Linked DNA regions of Homo sapiens: regions 1, 2, 4 and 5 are each linked to region 3. Evidence: promoter capture Hi-C in 16 types of primary human blood cells and fetal thymus (Javierre and others, 2016). All regions are on one chromosome and are shown on one strand. Each heading gives the region's core, a stretch centred on a gene start or on the middle of the fragment in contact. The rest is flanking DNA. Distances are from core to core; before and after follow the strand shown. Region 1 overlaps SLC38A6 (solute carrier family 38 member 6). Region 2 has its middle 120 kb from the start of TMEM30B. Region 3 holds the start of SIX4 (SIX homeobox 4). Region 4 overlaps SLC38A6 (solute carrier family 38 member 6). Region 5 has its middle 110 kb from the start of SLC38A6.

The links. Contacts are between HindIII fragments. The CHiCAGO score rates a contact against its expected background, and 5 or more counts as called.
Region 1: a contact is called between a fragment that was not itself captured here and the fragment with the promoter of SIX4 in region 3, in 9 of 17 cell types (endothelial precursors, megakaryocytes, erythroblasts and 6 more). The highest score is 14.5, in endothelial precursors.
Region 2: a contact is called between a fragment that was not itself captured here and the fragment with the promoter of SIX4 in region 3, in 1 of 17 cell types (endothelial precursors). The highest score is 5.2, in endothelial precursors.
Region 4: a fragment that was not itself captured here is called in contact with the fragment with the promoter of SIX4 in region 3 in 1 of 17 cell types (endothelial precursors); the score reaches 5.6 in endothelial precursors.
Region 5: a fragment that was not itself captured here is called in contact with the fragment with the promoter of SIX4 in region 3 in 1 of 17 cell types (erythroblasts); the score reaches 5.8 in erythroblasts.

What each region holds. Positions count from the first base shown.
Region 1 is chr14:61,025,932-61,028,892 of GRCh38, forward strand. All of the region lies in intron 5 of SLC38A6 (solute carrier family 38 member 6), which reads left to right. Among named protein-coding and RNA genes, the nearest start is that of SLC38A6, 46 kb to the left of the region's middle. The HindIII fragment of the contact is 1,685 bases long and covers 568-2,252 here.
Region 2 is chr14:61,164,775-61,167,699 of GRCh38, forward strand. No RefSeq gene overlaps it. Among named protein-coding and RNA genes, the nearest start is that of TMEM30B, 120 kb to the right of the region's middle. The HindIII fragment of the contact is 2,576 bases long and covers 86-2,661 here.
Region 3 is chr14:60,722,791-60,725,640 of GRCh38, forward strand. SIX4 (SIX homeobox 4) reads right to left here and starts at 1,561. Exons shown (of 3, transcript NM_017420.5): 1 at 422-1,561. The coding sequence starts at 1,284. RefSeq lists a silencer at 974-1,043. The HindIII fragment of the contact is 4,809 bases long and covers 1-2,267 here.
Region 4 is chr14:61,004,857-61,007,706 of GRCh38, forward strand. All of the region lies in intron 3 of SLC38A6 (solute carrier family 38 member 6), which reads left to right. Among named protein-coding and RNA genes, the nearest start is that of SLC38A6, 25 kb to the left of the region's middle. The HindIII fragment of the contact is 2,906 bases long and covers 121-2,850 here.
Region 5 is chr14:61,088,594-61,091,526 of GRCh38, forward strand. No RefSeq gene overlaps it. Among named protein-coding and RNA genes, the nearest start is that of SLC38A6, 110 kb to the left of the region's middle. RefSeq lists enhancers at 432-933, 1,997-2,136. The HindIII fragment of the contact is 212 bases long and covers 1,186-1,397 here.

The DNA.
Region 1 (2,961 bases), core at 160-2,659, 300 kb after region 3:
TTATTTTTTCCCCGTAGCACATCCGTTTGTTTAGGGCTGAGTAATCCTTTAAGAATTGCTGAACTTCCCCCAAGTGCTGAAAACCTAATTCTGTTTTAAAAATAGCTGTAAGTAATTCTGTCCTCATACATATATTTTACATGTTTAACAAAAAAGATTCTTATCTTCATAAACTGTAATGATGTCTTAGGCCCAAACTCCAATTAGGGTTGGTTTGTTTTTTTTAAGTTTGTATGCTTAATAACGACAACTTGGGAAGCATTTTCAGAGTGCTGCGAAAAATAACTCATAAGAATACAGTATTTGGAAGCACAGAGACTGATTTTTATTTTTTGGATTTCAGTGGAGTGTTAATATTTCAAATACGTGAGAATAGGAAACTTCCTCTTCAGAACTACAATCACAGCCGTAAATACAGTAGAGTCATAGCAGTAGATGCAATAGAATCTCATCATGAAACTCCATGAATTTTGAACTAATCACATCACCAAAGGAGCTCCAATACTGAAAAATGAAATACATTGAAAATATATCTCAAGATGAAATGAAAATTCTAAGTGTTACTAAAGCTTCTGACTAATGTTCTCTGTGATATTCATTTCCTTTGAAGTCAACTGTTAATCTCAGCATTCAAAAGTAGTTTGTTTAAATACTGATTTAAAAAAGAAAAATAATTCTGAAGAGTGGTACTTCTGGTAGACTTTCCTTATTTGTCTTTGTTTTGTTGGTTTACTTTTTCACTTTGCTCCTGCACTTTCTCATGGCATACTAGTTAATAGAACGAGTTTCTCAACCCAGGCGGGCTGTTTGCACCATCACTAGCTTGGGCAAGTTACTTCTTTGTGCTTCCTTATATTCTGTGAAATAAGTAATATGTACCTCACAGGTTTGTGTAAAGATTAAGTGAGGAAATAACTTGTGTAGAATACTACCAAGCATACAGTAGGCATCTAAAAAACAAAGATGTTAGCTGTTTTCATGGATCTCTGCCCAGAGTCCCTTCCCTGTTTCTGTGTTTCTAACATCTCTCCTCTCAACCTCCCGGGCCCAATTCATTTATTTCACTTTATAATTAGATCAGCAGATATTAACACCTTGCAACTTGCTATTACCTAATCAGATTTTACCCCATTTTAGTCACTTTTTAATATTACTGTTGCTTCTCCATGTTGTTTTTAAAGAGTGCTTTCAACTTCTGTGTTTTCAGTTGACAGATGTTTTATTTTTTCCCAGAGAAGTTTCTATTAAATGAGTTATATTAGTTTAAAATTAAGTAGAAAAGAATACCTATTTAGTTAATGTGCTAAAACTAAGTGATTTATAATGGCTGAATACCTGACATCAAGGTATATCTTCTGGCACTGATTTTGGCTTTGGTGGTTTGGGGCCACTTAACTATATGCATGGCTCTTGTGGATGACCCAGTTGCAGCTATTAATTTAGAGTAGAACATGGTGTGTCTTGTTTTAGGAATCTATACTAGGTGTCCATGTCACCCAAAATCATTTGCAAATTTTTGCTTATGATTGGTCTGTAAGATAAGTGCTTAAACACTTTCTTATGCCATTTATAAAAGACATAAGACAAAAACTGTGGCAGACAGCTATTTGATCTAGTAAACCTTTTAGTTAAAAACAAAGGCAATATGAGCATTCCTATCAATAGTATATCTTTAAAACTTTTCCAGTTCATTTTATTGAGCTGATTGTTCTTTTGTATGAATTTAATTAAGATATATTTCCTAACTTAATGTGTATTTGGTAATCTTTTTGTTTCTTTTCTGTATTATATATAATATAATGTGTTAAAGTGCTAGCTAGTTCTTACATGAAAGTTTACTTGTGATTAAGAAAAAAATAATTTTCATAGTGAATAGAATGGTGGTGGCCTTTGTTTTACTGGCTTAATCCGTGTGGGTTTTCCCCTATAGTAAGTTCTGTGGTTGTATACTCTTAAAATATATACTAACATTCTCTAGAAAAGAAGCAATGTTTTGCATGTTTTATTATATTTGTATCTTGTATGTGAGGTCTTCTTTGAGAGAGAAACACGTTTGGTGAGTTCATATTTCTTAAAATATACATGATTCTTCAGACTGGAATCTAATGAAATAGTACTCCCATTTGAAAACCAAAGAGTTGAGGGTACAACAAAGGATAAAAGTGATCAGATGATTAGCCAGGGGCTAATAGAAATTCTGGAAAGAATGACAGATATTATATTAGAAAGAAATAGGATCTCATATTCACTGAAGCTTTCTACAGCTAAAGGTCCAAAAGAAATAATAGAAAATTACTGAAAGAGATGAATGTCTGAAACTTTAGAAATGCATGTGGTGTTGGATTAATCCAAGCAAGAAAGAAAGATGGGCAGATAATAAATTACATTTTATAGGAAGTCTGCTTTCCTTGTTTTCAAAGTATTTTGTCTTTTTTCTTTTCTGTCTCTCTCACAAGATATATTTAAGTAAGTCTAGGCCGGTTTCAGAAAATTCAGTTCACAATTTTTATCTTTGCACCATATGTGTAGAGTTCTTTGGAATCGGTAAAATATTATAAAAACTCCAAATCCTTGAATGGAGAAGGTTAGTCTAAACCTTCCTTCTGTTCTGTGCCAAATTGATAGCATTTTTCCTTACGAGAATATGAACAATACAGAACACATTTTCACATACAATCAGTTGTAATACCCCATAACTAAAAGATTTTGCAGAAATGTCTCAGTGGATTTTAGTCAACCCACTGAGACATAGCTGTACTTCTGCTAGGGAAAAAGAAATCGTTGTAAACTGAAAAAATATGTATATGTATATTTTCATCACAGAGAAGTGATTATTTAACTGTTCTAAATTTTACTTTGACATAAATACATGTTATTTTACTAAAAAAAATTGAGAGTGTATGTTTTTGTGTCTATAGTATTATCTATCTCCATACAAATTTACACGCAAAGTAGCATGTA
Region 2 (2,925 bases), core at 124-2,623, 440 kb after region 3:
TCAAGGTTTGCACTTTTTATATCCTGTATAATAAAGTCTTTGTGTTAACCCAGTTCAATTTTTTAAAAACATATTTTCTTCTAGAAGCTTTATAGTTCGGCTCTTACAGTTAGTTCTATTATCCATTTATGTAAATAAATTGTGTATAACATGTGAGATTAGGGTAAAGAATCATTTTATTTTCTTATGGACATCCAGTGGCTTTTTGAAAAGACTTTCCTTTCCCTATGGCATTACATTGGCACCTTCACTGAAAATCAATTGACAATATATGTGTGGATCTATTTCTAGGCCCCCATTCTGTTCCACAGATCTATCTGTCTATCCAACACCACATTGCCCTAATTATGTAGCTTTGTGATAAATCTTAAAATCAGGCAGTGTAATTCCTCCAACTTTTATCTTTTTCAAAATAATTTTGCATTTTAATAAAAACATTTAAATAACTATTGATTTCTATAAAAAATCTGTTAGAATATTGATTTGGATTGTGTTGAGTCTATACATTAATTTGGGAAGAACTGAGATTTTAACATTATTGAGTTTTCTGACTCATAAATGTGGAATATCTCTCTATTAACCTGTCTTTCTTTAATTTCATTCCATGAAGTTTTATGTTTTAGTATCCAGGTGTTGCACACATTTTGTTAAATTTATACCTAGGTATTTTCATGTTTTTAGATGCCATTGTGTTACATTTTATTTTATTTTATTTTTCTTTTGAAACAGAATCTCACTCTGTTGCCCAGGTTGGAGTGCAGTGGTGCAATCTTGGCTCACTACAACCTCCGCCTCCCGGGTTCATGCCATTCTCCTACCTCAGCCTCCCGAGTAGCTGGGACTACAGGTGCCCGCCACCATGCCCAGCTAATTTTTTTTATTTTTAGTAGAGACGGGGTTTCACCATGTTAGCCAGGATGGTCTCGATCTCCTGACCTCGTGATCTGCTTGCCTCGGCCTCCCAAAGTGCTGGGATTACAGGCGTGAGCCACCACGTCCAGCCCAAATGTTATATTTTAAATTCTCAAGTCCTAACTCTTTGTGACTGTGATGGTTAATACTGAGTGGCAACTTGTTTGGATTGAAGGATGCAAAGTATTTTTCCTGGGTGTGTCTGTGAGGGTGCTGCCAAAGGAGATTAATATTTGAGTCAGTGGACTGGGAAAGGCAGATCCACCCTTAATCTGGGCGGTAACAATCTAATCAGCTAATCTAATCAGCTAATCTAATCAGCGGCCAGTGTAGCCAGAATAAAAGCAGGCAGAGGAACGTGAAAACATTAGACTGGCTTAGCCTCCCAGACTACACCTTCCTCCCGTGCCAGATGCTTCCTGCCCTTGAACATTGGACTCCAAGTTCTTCAGCTTTGGGACTCGGACTGGCTTCCTTGCTCCTCAGCTTGCAGATGGCCTATTGTGGGACCTTGTGATCGTGTAAGCCAATACTCCTTAATAAACTCCCCTTTATATATGCATCTATCCTATTAGTTCTGTCCTTCTAGAGAACCCTAATATAGTGACCAAAAAAAGATACAATTGATCTTTGTTTAATAAACTTGCATATTTCAACTTTTCTAATCTTACTTATTCATTCTTGTAACCTATTTGAGAATTCTTTAGGATTTTCCATGTAGATAATCATGTTGCCTACAAAGGAAGAAAGTTTTACTTCCTCTTGTCCACTGGCCATGCTTCCTCTACCCCCTGCCTCCACCCTACCCAACCTCCGCCCCATTTCCAGGATCTCCAGTACAGTGATGAATATAAGTAGTAAGAGTAATAAGATAGGACATAATCCTAGAGGAAAGCATTCAGTCTTTTACAACTAACTATAATGTTACCTGTAGGTCTTCCATGCCTGATTTTTGATCAGAATGAAGAAATTCCCATCTATTCCTGGTTTGCTGAGCTTTTATCATGAATCGAAATTGAATTTTGTCAAATGCTTTATGTGCATCTATTGAGATAATTAGTCAATTTTACTTTTTCAGTCTGTTAATATGGTGAATTACACTAACAGTTTTTAGTATTAAACCAAACTTACATTCTGAGACAAATACCAACCACTTGGTCATGATGTATTACCTTTTTTATATATTACTGGATTTGATTTGTTCAAATCTGTTAAATTTGGGTGTGGGGGCTATGTCATGAGAGAAATTTATTTTTAGTTTTCTTTTTCTGTAATGTCTTTGGTTTTGGTATCAGGGTAAAGCTGGACTCATAAAATGAACTGGGAAGTATTCCCAGTTGAATTGGTAATAGTTATACCTTAATGTTAAGTTCACCACTGAAGTCATCAGATCCTTCTTTGTGAGAAGGATAAGTACAAATCTAATTTCCTTAACTGATAATGGATTACTATCTATTTCTTTTTGAATGAGTTTCAAATAGTAAATGAGAAACAAATGGGCAAAAGATTTGAACTGCCAGTTCACCAAAGAAGATATCCAAATGCTAAATAAGGACATGAAAAATGCTCATTCATCATTAGGGAAACACAAATTAAAAACACAATGAGGTACCATTACATGCATTAGAATGGCTAAAATTAAAAATATTTATAATACTACACATTGGTGAGGACATGGAGCACCTGGAACTCTCTTACATTACTAATGGGAAATGTGATATGGTGCAGTCCTTTGAATAACAATTTAAAAGCTTTTTATAAAATTTAATATATACTTATCATATGACCCAGTAATTCAATTCTTAGATATTTACATTAGAGAAATAAAAACATGTGTTCACCCAAAGATATGTACATAAATGTTCATAGCAATTTCATCTCCAGTAGCTAAAAGCTGAAAATAATTCAAATAAAAAATTTGTTTATTCATGTACACACAAATTATAGTATTTCCTTATAATGGAATACTTCTCAATAACAAAAAGAAGTAAACTACTGATACATGTAATAACA
Region 3 (2,850 bases), core at 311-2,810:
GCGCCGGCAGTCTCTGCGGGCCTCGGGCGGCAGGGAGAGCTACGGTGCCGGTGTCCACATTTGCTTCGTTAGCCCCTCCAGAAACGGGGAGAGGGTGGCAACTTCAAAGCCAGCGGGATGGGGGTGGGAAGCTGGGCAGCAGTGACCAGCCGAGGTGGGGGCGGGGACTGAGACCTAGGCGGGCGACCAGAAACTTCTGGGGGGAGAGGGGGAGGGTAAGGAGGGAGGTTCCCCCGCCCCCCGCCTCCGCCGCCCCCTACCTCTGCCGGCCGGGGAGCGAGGTAGGGGGCGGGGAGAGGTGGGCAGCCGGACCAGGCTGGTGGGGAAGGTAAGCGCCATGTTTGCGAGCACTTGGAGGAAAAGAAAGCCGGGAAGGGGGTGGGGGAGAGGAAGGGGGAGGAGGAGGAAAGTTGGCGCTCACCTTTTGGACTGGGTCTCGGAGGGGTTCCTGTCGCGCTGCCGGCGGTTCTTGAACCAGTTGCTGACCTGGGTGAGGGAGAGGCCGGTGATCTTGGCCAGGTGCCGCTTCTCGGCGGGCGAAGGGTAGCGATTCTGCTTGTAGAGCTCCTTGAGCGCGTTGCGCGACTTCTCCTTGAAACAATACACCGTCTCCTCGCCGTCCCAGATGGTGCGGGGCAGGGGGAATTTCCTGCGCAGCCGGTACTTGTCTACGGCTCCCAGCGGCCGGCCGCGGGCTCGCTCGGCCTCGGTGTAGCGCGCCTTGTACCAGAGCTGCTGCAGCAGCGGGTGGTTGGCCGACTCGAAGCTGTGGCTCTCGAGGATGCTGTAGAGCTCGGGGTAGATGCCCTGGTGGAAGGCCACGAGCGCCCGCGCCTTCAGCAGGCTCTCGTTGCCACGTAGCAGGTCGCTCTGGGGCAGGGACCACAGGAACCGGGCCAGGCGGTCCAGGTTGCCCCCCTGCTGCAGTGCCTCGCACACGCAGGCGACGTGGTCGGGCGAGAAGGCCAGCGGGGTCTGCGCGGCGGCGGCGGCGGCGTGGTGGTGCCTGCCCAGAAGTTCCGAGTGGAGTTGTACCTGATCCGCCGCCGCTCCGGCCGCCGCCGCCGCCACTGCCCCTTCCTCTCCGCTCACCCTGGCGGCAGCGGTCGCGGCGTCCCCCGGCTCCAGGGGAAAAGGGGCTGGAGCCGGGGGGCTCAGCCCTACCGCCGCGCCCCCCGCCACTTCTCGGTGCGCCTCCTGCCCTTCCGAGGCGCTTTCCATCCCATTCTCTTGCTTGATGTCCGCCGCACTTGCGATCTGCCCGGTGGGGGAGGAAGAGGACATTTTTTGTTGTTTATTTTCCTCCCTCCCTCACTCCCTCGCACTCTTTTCCTCTTTCTTTCCTCCTCTCTTACTCCTCCTCCTTCGTCTCCCTCCCTCCTCTCCCCCTCCGGAAAGCCCACTCCCTCCCTCCTGGTTTCGGCTGTATCTGGCCGATCAGGTTTCCCCCCGGCCACGCAGTCACCATTAAGATAGCTGTTAGAGCAAAGTAGTGTAAACGGATAGCTGCTTTCTGCCGTTCCCCCAACGTGACTCCTCCGGTTGCTGCATACTATATGGCAGTGGCGGCCGGGCCGGCCCGGCCTAGCCACCTCATTGGCTATTTCGCATTCAGAGGGAGGAGGAGACACAGTTTCTATCCCTGTCGATCACCCGCCTCCCACTCCACCCCTCGCCTTTCCCTCCCCTCCTGACCCCCAGGCACCTATACCTGAAGGAAAACACCGACATTCTTTCCAAGCCACGCTCCTGGGCGGGAAATTACCTAATGTGGCCTGAAAACTGGACAACTCTTTCAAACAGAGGCCCTACAATTCCAGAGGGAATATTAATTGTGTGGCCTTAAGGTCTGGATGGTTAAATTTTTAACAAAGAGACCACCCTCAGCATCTAGATGACAAAACTTCAGAGGACAATTCAGAAGCCCCCCAGTATGTCCCTGTTCCCCATTCTCCCTCTTTTTGGATGTCTTTATCAAGGATTTTGTATTCAAAACGGTCAAAAATAAAATGACACTAGGAAATGTTCTAAGGGGCAAGCATTTACAGTAAATTAAAATTCCAAAGAGGGAAAAATGCTTGAAAACCTTATAATTAGCAGCATAAATAGCACACTGAGAAGACAAAAACAAGAAGCCTTCAAAAAATGTACTTAACCTTAAGCCACGTGGAGGGCTGGCAACCCAACTGAGTTGAACATGGTATAATTAAACATGTAGAATATTAAACCATAAGTTTATCCTGGATGAGTCGTGTGGAAGAGATCTAAGCTTTAAATATGGAAATTTAAGTTTTCTACATGAACTTTTTAATGTAAGTATATGAGTATTTCTTTTTTAACGATGATAGGCTAGAAACACTGAATGTGCGGGTGTCATCCAGATCAGTGCAGGATCAGAAGCCCTTTTCCACAGCATAGACAGATTGCCCTCTGGTTTGATGCTGAAGTGGGGGTAGAGTCTTTTGTTGTTTGCAGTTGTGTCTCTTTCCTTTGTAATTTGCACAAGATCTTAATTCCAAAAGGGATGATCCATTTCTGCTTCTTTGATTACTGTAGGTCAGTTGGGTTTGCCTGCTGCTGCTCTTTCTCAAAATTCAACTTTTTTTCCCCCCGAGATGGAGTCTCGCTCTGTCGCCCAGGCTGGAGTGCAGTGGTGTGATCTCGGCTCACTGCAAGCTCCGCCTCCTGGGTTCACGCCATTCTCCTGCCTCAGCCTCCCGAGTAGCTGGGACTACAGGCGCCCGCCACCACGCCCAGCTAATTTTTTTTTTTTTTTTTTTTTTGTATTTTTTAGTAGAGACGGGGTTTCACCACGTTAGCCAGGATGGTCTCGATCTCCTGACCTCGTGA
Region 4 (2,850 bases), core at 324-2,823, 280 kb after region 3:
TACCAAAGCCAGGCAGAGACACAACCAAAAAAGAGAATTTTAGACCAATATCCTTGATGAACATGGATGCAAAAATCCTCAATAAAATACTGGCAAACTGAATCCAGCAGCACATCAAAAAGCTTATCCACCATGATCAAGTGGGCTTCATCCCTAGGATGCAAGGCTGGTTCAATATACGCAAATCAATAAATGTAATCCAGCATATAAACAGAACCAAAGACAAAAACCACATGTTTATCTCAATAGATGCAGAAAAGGCCTTTGACAAAGTTCAGCCCATTCATGCTAAAAACAATAAATTAGGTATTGATGGGACGTATCTCCAAATTAGAAGAGCTATCTATGACAAACCCACAGCCAATATCATACTGAATGGGCAAAAACTGGAAGCATTCCCTTTGAAAACTGGCACAAGACAGGGATGCCCTCTCTCACCACTCCTATTCAACATAGTGTTGGAAGTTCTGGCCAGGGCAATCATGCAGGAGAAGGAAATAAAGGATATTCAATTAGGAAAAGAGGAAGTCAAATTGTCCCTGTTTGCAGATGACATGATTGTATATCTAGAAAACCCCATTGTCTCAGCCCAAAATCTCCTTAAGCTGATAAGCAACTTCAGCAAAGTCTCAGGATACAAAATCAATGTACAAAAATCACAAGCATTCTTATACACCAATAACAGACAAACAGAGAGCCAAATCATGAGTGAACTCCCATTCACAATTGCTTCAAAGAGAATAAAGTACCTAGGAATCCAACTTAGAAGGGATGTGAAGGACCTCTTCAAGGAGAACTACAAACCACTGCTTAATGAAATAAAAGAAGATACAAAGAAATGGAAGAACATTCCATGCTCATGGGTAGGAAGAATCAATATCATGAAAATCGCCATACTGCCCAAGGTAATTTATAGATTCAATGCCATCCCCATCAAGCTACCAATGACTTTCTTCACAGAGTTGGAAAAAACTAAAGTTCATATGGAACCAAAAAAGAGCCCGCATTGCCAAGTCAATCCTAAGCCAAAAGAACAAAGCTGGAGGCATCACGCTACCTGACTTCAAACTATACTACAAGGCTACAGTAACCAAAACAGCATGGTACTGGTACCAAAACAGAGATATAGATCAATGGAACAGAACAGAGCCCTCAGAAATAATGCCGCATATCTACACCTATCTGATCTTTGACAAACCTGAGAAAAACAAGCAATGGGGAAGGGATTCCCTATTTAATAAATGGTGCTGGGAAAACTGGCTAGCCATATGTAGAAAGCTGAAACTGGATCCCTTCCTTACACCTTATACAAAAATTAATTCAAGATGGATTAAAGACTTAAACATTAGATCTAAAACCATAAAAACCCTAGAAGAAAACTTAGGCATTACCATTGAGGACATAGGCATGGGCAAGGACTTCGTGTCTAAAACATCAAAAGCAATGGCAACAAAAGCCAAAATTGACAAATGAGATCTAATTAAACTAAAGAGCTTCTTCACAGCAAAAGAAACTACCATCAGAGTGAACAGGCAACCTACAAAATGGGAGAAAATTTTCACAACCTACTCATCTGACAAAGGGCTAATATCTAGAATCTACAATGAACTCAAACAAATTTACAGGAAAAAAACAACCCCATCAAAAAGTGGGCGAAGGACATGAACAGATACTTCTCAAAAGAAGACATTTATGCAGCCAAAAAACACATGAAAAAATGCTCACCATCACTGGCCATCAGAGAAATGCAAATCAAAACCACAATGAGATACCATCTCACACCAGTTAGAATGGCAGTCATTAAAAAGTCAGGAAACAACAGGTGCTGGAGAGGATGTGGAGAAATAGAAACACTTACACTGTTGGTGGGACTGTAAACTAGTTCAACCATTGTGGAAGTCAGTGTGGCGATTCCTCAGGGATCTAGAACTAGAAATACCATTTGACCCAGCCATCCCATTACTGGGTATATACCCAAAGGACTATAAATCATGCTGCTATAAAGACACATGCACACATATGTTTATTGCGGCACTATTCACAATAGCAAAGACTTGGAACCAAGCCAAATGTCCAACAATGATAGAGTGGATTAAGAAAATGTGGCACATATACACCATGGAATACTATGCAGCCATAAAAAATGATGAGTTCATGTCCTTTGTAGGGACATGGATGAAATTGGAAATCATCATTCTCAGCAAACTATCCCAAGGACAAAAAACCAAACACCACATGTTCTTACTCATAGGTGGGAATTGAACAATGAGAACACATGGACGCAGGAAGGGGAACATCACACTCTGAGGACTGTTGTGGGGTGGGAGGAAGGGAGAGGGATAGCATTAGGAGATATACCTAATGCTAAATGACGAGTTAATGGGTGCAGCACACCAGCGTGGCACATGTATACATATGTATCTAACCTTCACATTGTGCACATGTACCCTAAAACTTTAATAATAATAAAATAAAATAAAATAAAAGAACAGACCAGATGCAGTGGCTCACACCAGTAATCCCAGCACTTTGTGAGGCCAAGGTAGGAGGATGGCTTGAGTCCAAGAGTTTGAGATTAACCTGGGCAACATAGTGAAACCCTGCCTATACAAAAAGTAAAAAATGAAAAGTTAGCCTGGGCCTGGTGTATTTGCATGTGCCTGTGGTCCCAGCAACTCCAGGGGCTGAGGCAGGAGGATTGCTTGAGCCCAGTAGTTCAAGGCTGCAGTGAGCTGTGATTGTGCCAGTGCACTCTAGCTTGGGTTACAGAGTAAGACCCTGTCTCAAAAAAATAAGAATGTACATATTTAATTGTAATATGAAACGGATGCTGAAAATGAACACCGATAT
Region 5 (2,933 bases), core at 42-2,541, 370 kb after region 3:
ATATATAATTTTTTTTTTGAGATGGAGTCTCTGTCTGTCACCCAGGCTGGAGTGCAGTGGCATGATCTCAGCTCATTGCAACCTCCACCTCCCAGGTTCAAATGATTCTCCTTTTATATTAAGGCATCTATCTGTCTAACATCTGTGGATCTATACATCATATATATTAAGGTATAATGGCCATGTATATTGCTATTTTCCCCCAATTTTTATTTGTGTTTTTGCTTTGTTTATTCTATTCTGAATTTTTTCCCCATTTGTATATAGTCTATTAAACAATGCTTTATAGTTTCTGTCTTTGGTTGATACTTCAAAATAACTTTCCCGTCCCAAAATGGTAACAGTATTTACATTTTTTACTGGTACTCTTATGTGTTTTTTTTTAATAAAATAATCATATAGAACTAATTTTGTTTTAAGGTACGAGGTACTAGCTAACATTTTCTTCAGAGTTACTAAATTCTTAAGTATGTTTGAATTTGTGAACTCTGTATTTCTGAACTTTTCTTAATGTCTCCTTAATCTATGCTAGGGCTAAATTACTCAATTAATTAAACAATTTCAAGATTTCAGAAGTTTTAATATTTAATGAGAAGTCTTCAGCCTTGGGGTAGAATGTTGTTGCTTGTTACTTAGTGCTGGGGAGTCAGGGGTGCGCTTGATCCTAGTACACTCTCAGGCTTTGGCAGGCCCTGTATGCCTGGATCTTAGGAGTAAGGCTTTCTCAGAAATCCTGCCCCTCCTCCTCCTCCTCCTGTGGCAGCTGAACCCTGCCTTGTGTCATGTGCAGGAGAGAATGTCTGGATCTGGGGCTCAGGACTGTTTCTTGCCCGTTCCCCAGGGATCAAGGGTGTTTTGGCTTTCCCCTTCCCCAAGCTGCAGTAGGTCTTCACCTGTGCCCTGACTGCAACAGGCTGTACTGTCCCTCCCCAGTGGCTTAGGTGGGAGGAGGGTGTGGCTGTAGCCTTATGCCTTTCCTTCAGCAATGTTGCCCCTCTTTCCTGGGCCTGCACTGTGCAGGGAGGCTTCTTTGCTCTCCCACCCTGCCTTCAGTCCTTTCTCAATCAGTAGGTGGAAGGGAGTGGAGAAGAGCCTGCAAGTGGGCACCAATTCCTCTTGTGTCTGCAGCCCCCAGGGGTGCTACACTCATGCTAGTCTGCTTCTGGCCTTTAGTAATTTGTTAAAAGCTTTAGATGAATTCTTTTTATGTTTTTGTATGGCACCCAGTGTTTCTTCCCATACTCAGCCACATCTCTTCTTGGGGACGCAGCCTTTCCTTAGATTTCAGGCTTTTGGGTTCCGTGTGATCTCAGCTTTCTGGTGGACTCAAGAAAAGGTATGGGTTTTTGGTCATCTGACTTTATTGTTGTTGTTAGGGTGGGAGAGACACTATTTTAAGCTTTCTTTATAGTAAGCAGGAGGGGAACTCCTGTGTTTTCATAGCTAATCAAGCATGGACCCTGCCCTTATTCTCTTTTTAAAAATTTTCTTGGCTATTCTCACATATCTGTTCTCTTAAATATACTTTAGAATCATTTGCTCAAGTACCTCAAACCCAAACACCTCCAAAAGAATTCCTTTTGGATTGACATGGTATCAAAATATGTAAACTGACTTCAGTCCCAGATGTTGTCGAAACTTCATTCCCAAGATCTGAATAGAGCAGTCAGAGCGGATTGTGATTGAAAGACCACCTCCAAGGCCAGCCTGCCTCTAAATCCCACCTGTTTTGTTTTGGTGTCTTGAAATTCCAGCATTAGAGTGCAGAAAAATAGTTCTAGGACCTTAGAGGATGAAAATGTATGCAGTTTGTGTTGGAAGGACCAGCATAATAACTAATGTGCAACCATCACTGCACTTACAAATTAAGGTCACAGATCTAGACAAAGTATTGTGTGAATTAAGTGAGTCAGTGAGTGAGTGAGTATGGAGAGGGACTCTGTTAAGAACAGGGGAGCTAGAGGGGAAATGACTGGATCTGGAACTGAGAGCACCCGAGTAGCTGAGAATGCGGACTCTAAATCTTCTGGGGACAAGAGGAGAGGAGCAAAAGCCCCACAGCCACCTCTGTGGTTGTCACACTTCAATCTGGCAGCTAGAGAAAAGCCCGAACCAGGCCAGGTAAGGCTCCCCTCAAGGACTATGTAGATTGTGTGCTACAGGCAAAAAAGGGGAAAACCCTCCAAGAGGATCCAGCAGTGATCACAGCTATTGATTTGTACTCCCACGGCCCTTGCGGCCATGCATCTCTTAAAATCAAATGAAACAACCATCAACAATTGTGGTAAGAATTTTCCAGTAGGAGAAATAGAGAAAGGAAAAAAAATTCTGAGAAAACAAAACAAAACCCTTCTTGATGTTTTCCACAGACTGCTTTAGAAAGAGAAAGACTGATGCAATCCAATCAAGGACAGTGATCCTCGGTTGACCCAGGATATTTCACAGACCCAGAATGCAGAAGGCACAGACGCCCACAAGCAGGCCTCAGTTTTGACTTCTTAAATGCAACCATTTTTTGTAAATTAATATTGAATTTTCAACCAACTCCAGCACCTCATTAAGGAGGGGCCTGTTCTTTGCCAAACTCTTCCAAGGGAACCTGCTGGGTTTGAGTGTAGGTGTCAGCAAACATTTCCCAGTATGTTCTAATGGGGAAATATTTATTTTGTAACACTCCTTCCTAACCGAAAATACAATTATGTGACATGTTTTATATGACCAAGGGGATTTGGGCTAAGATTTTGTATCCATAATGTGCCCTAATATTGAGAAATATCATTTTTAAAGTATTCTCTTTGGCATTGACAGGGGGCTACATTCTGGAAAAATAGCACTTCATGGGAATTTCCCTTTAGCCCTGAGAAAAAATAGTTTGGGAACACATAACAGTATATTTGGTTTGGGATGTTAAATCCTGCAGGGTCTCTGAAAGA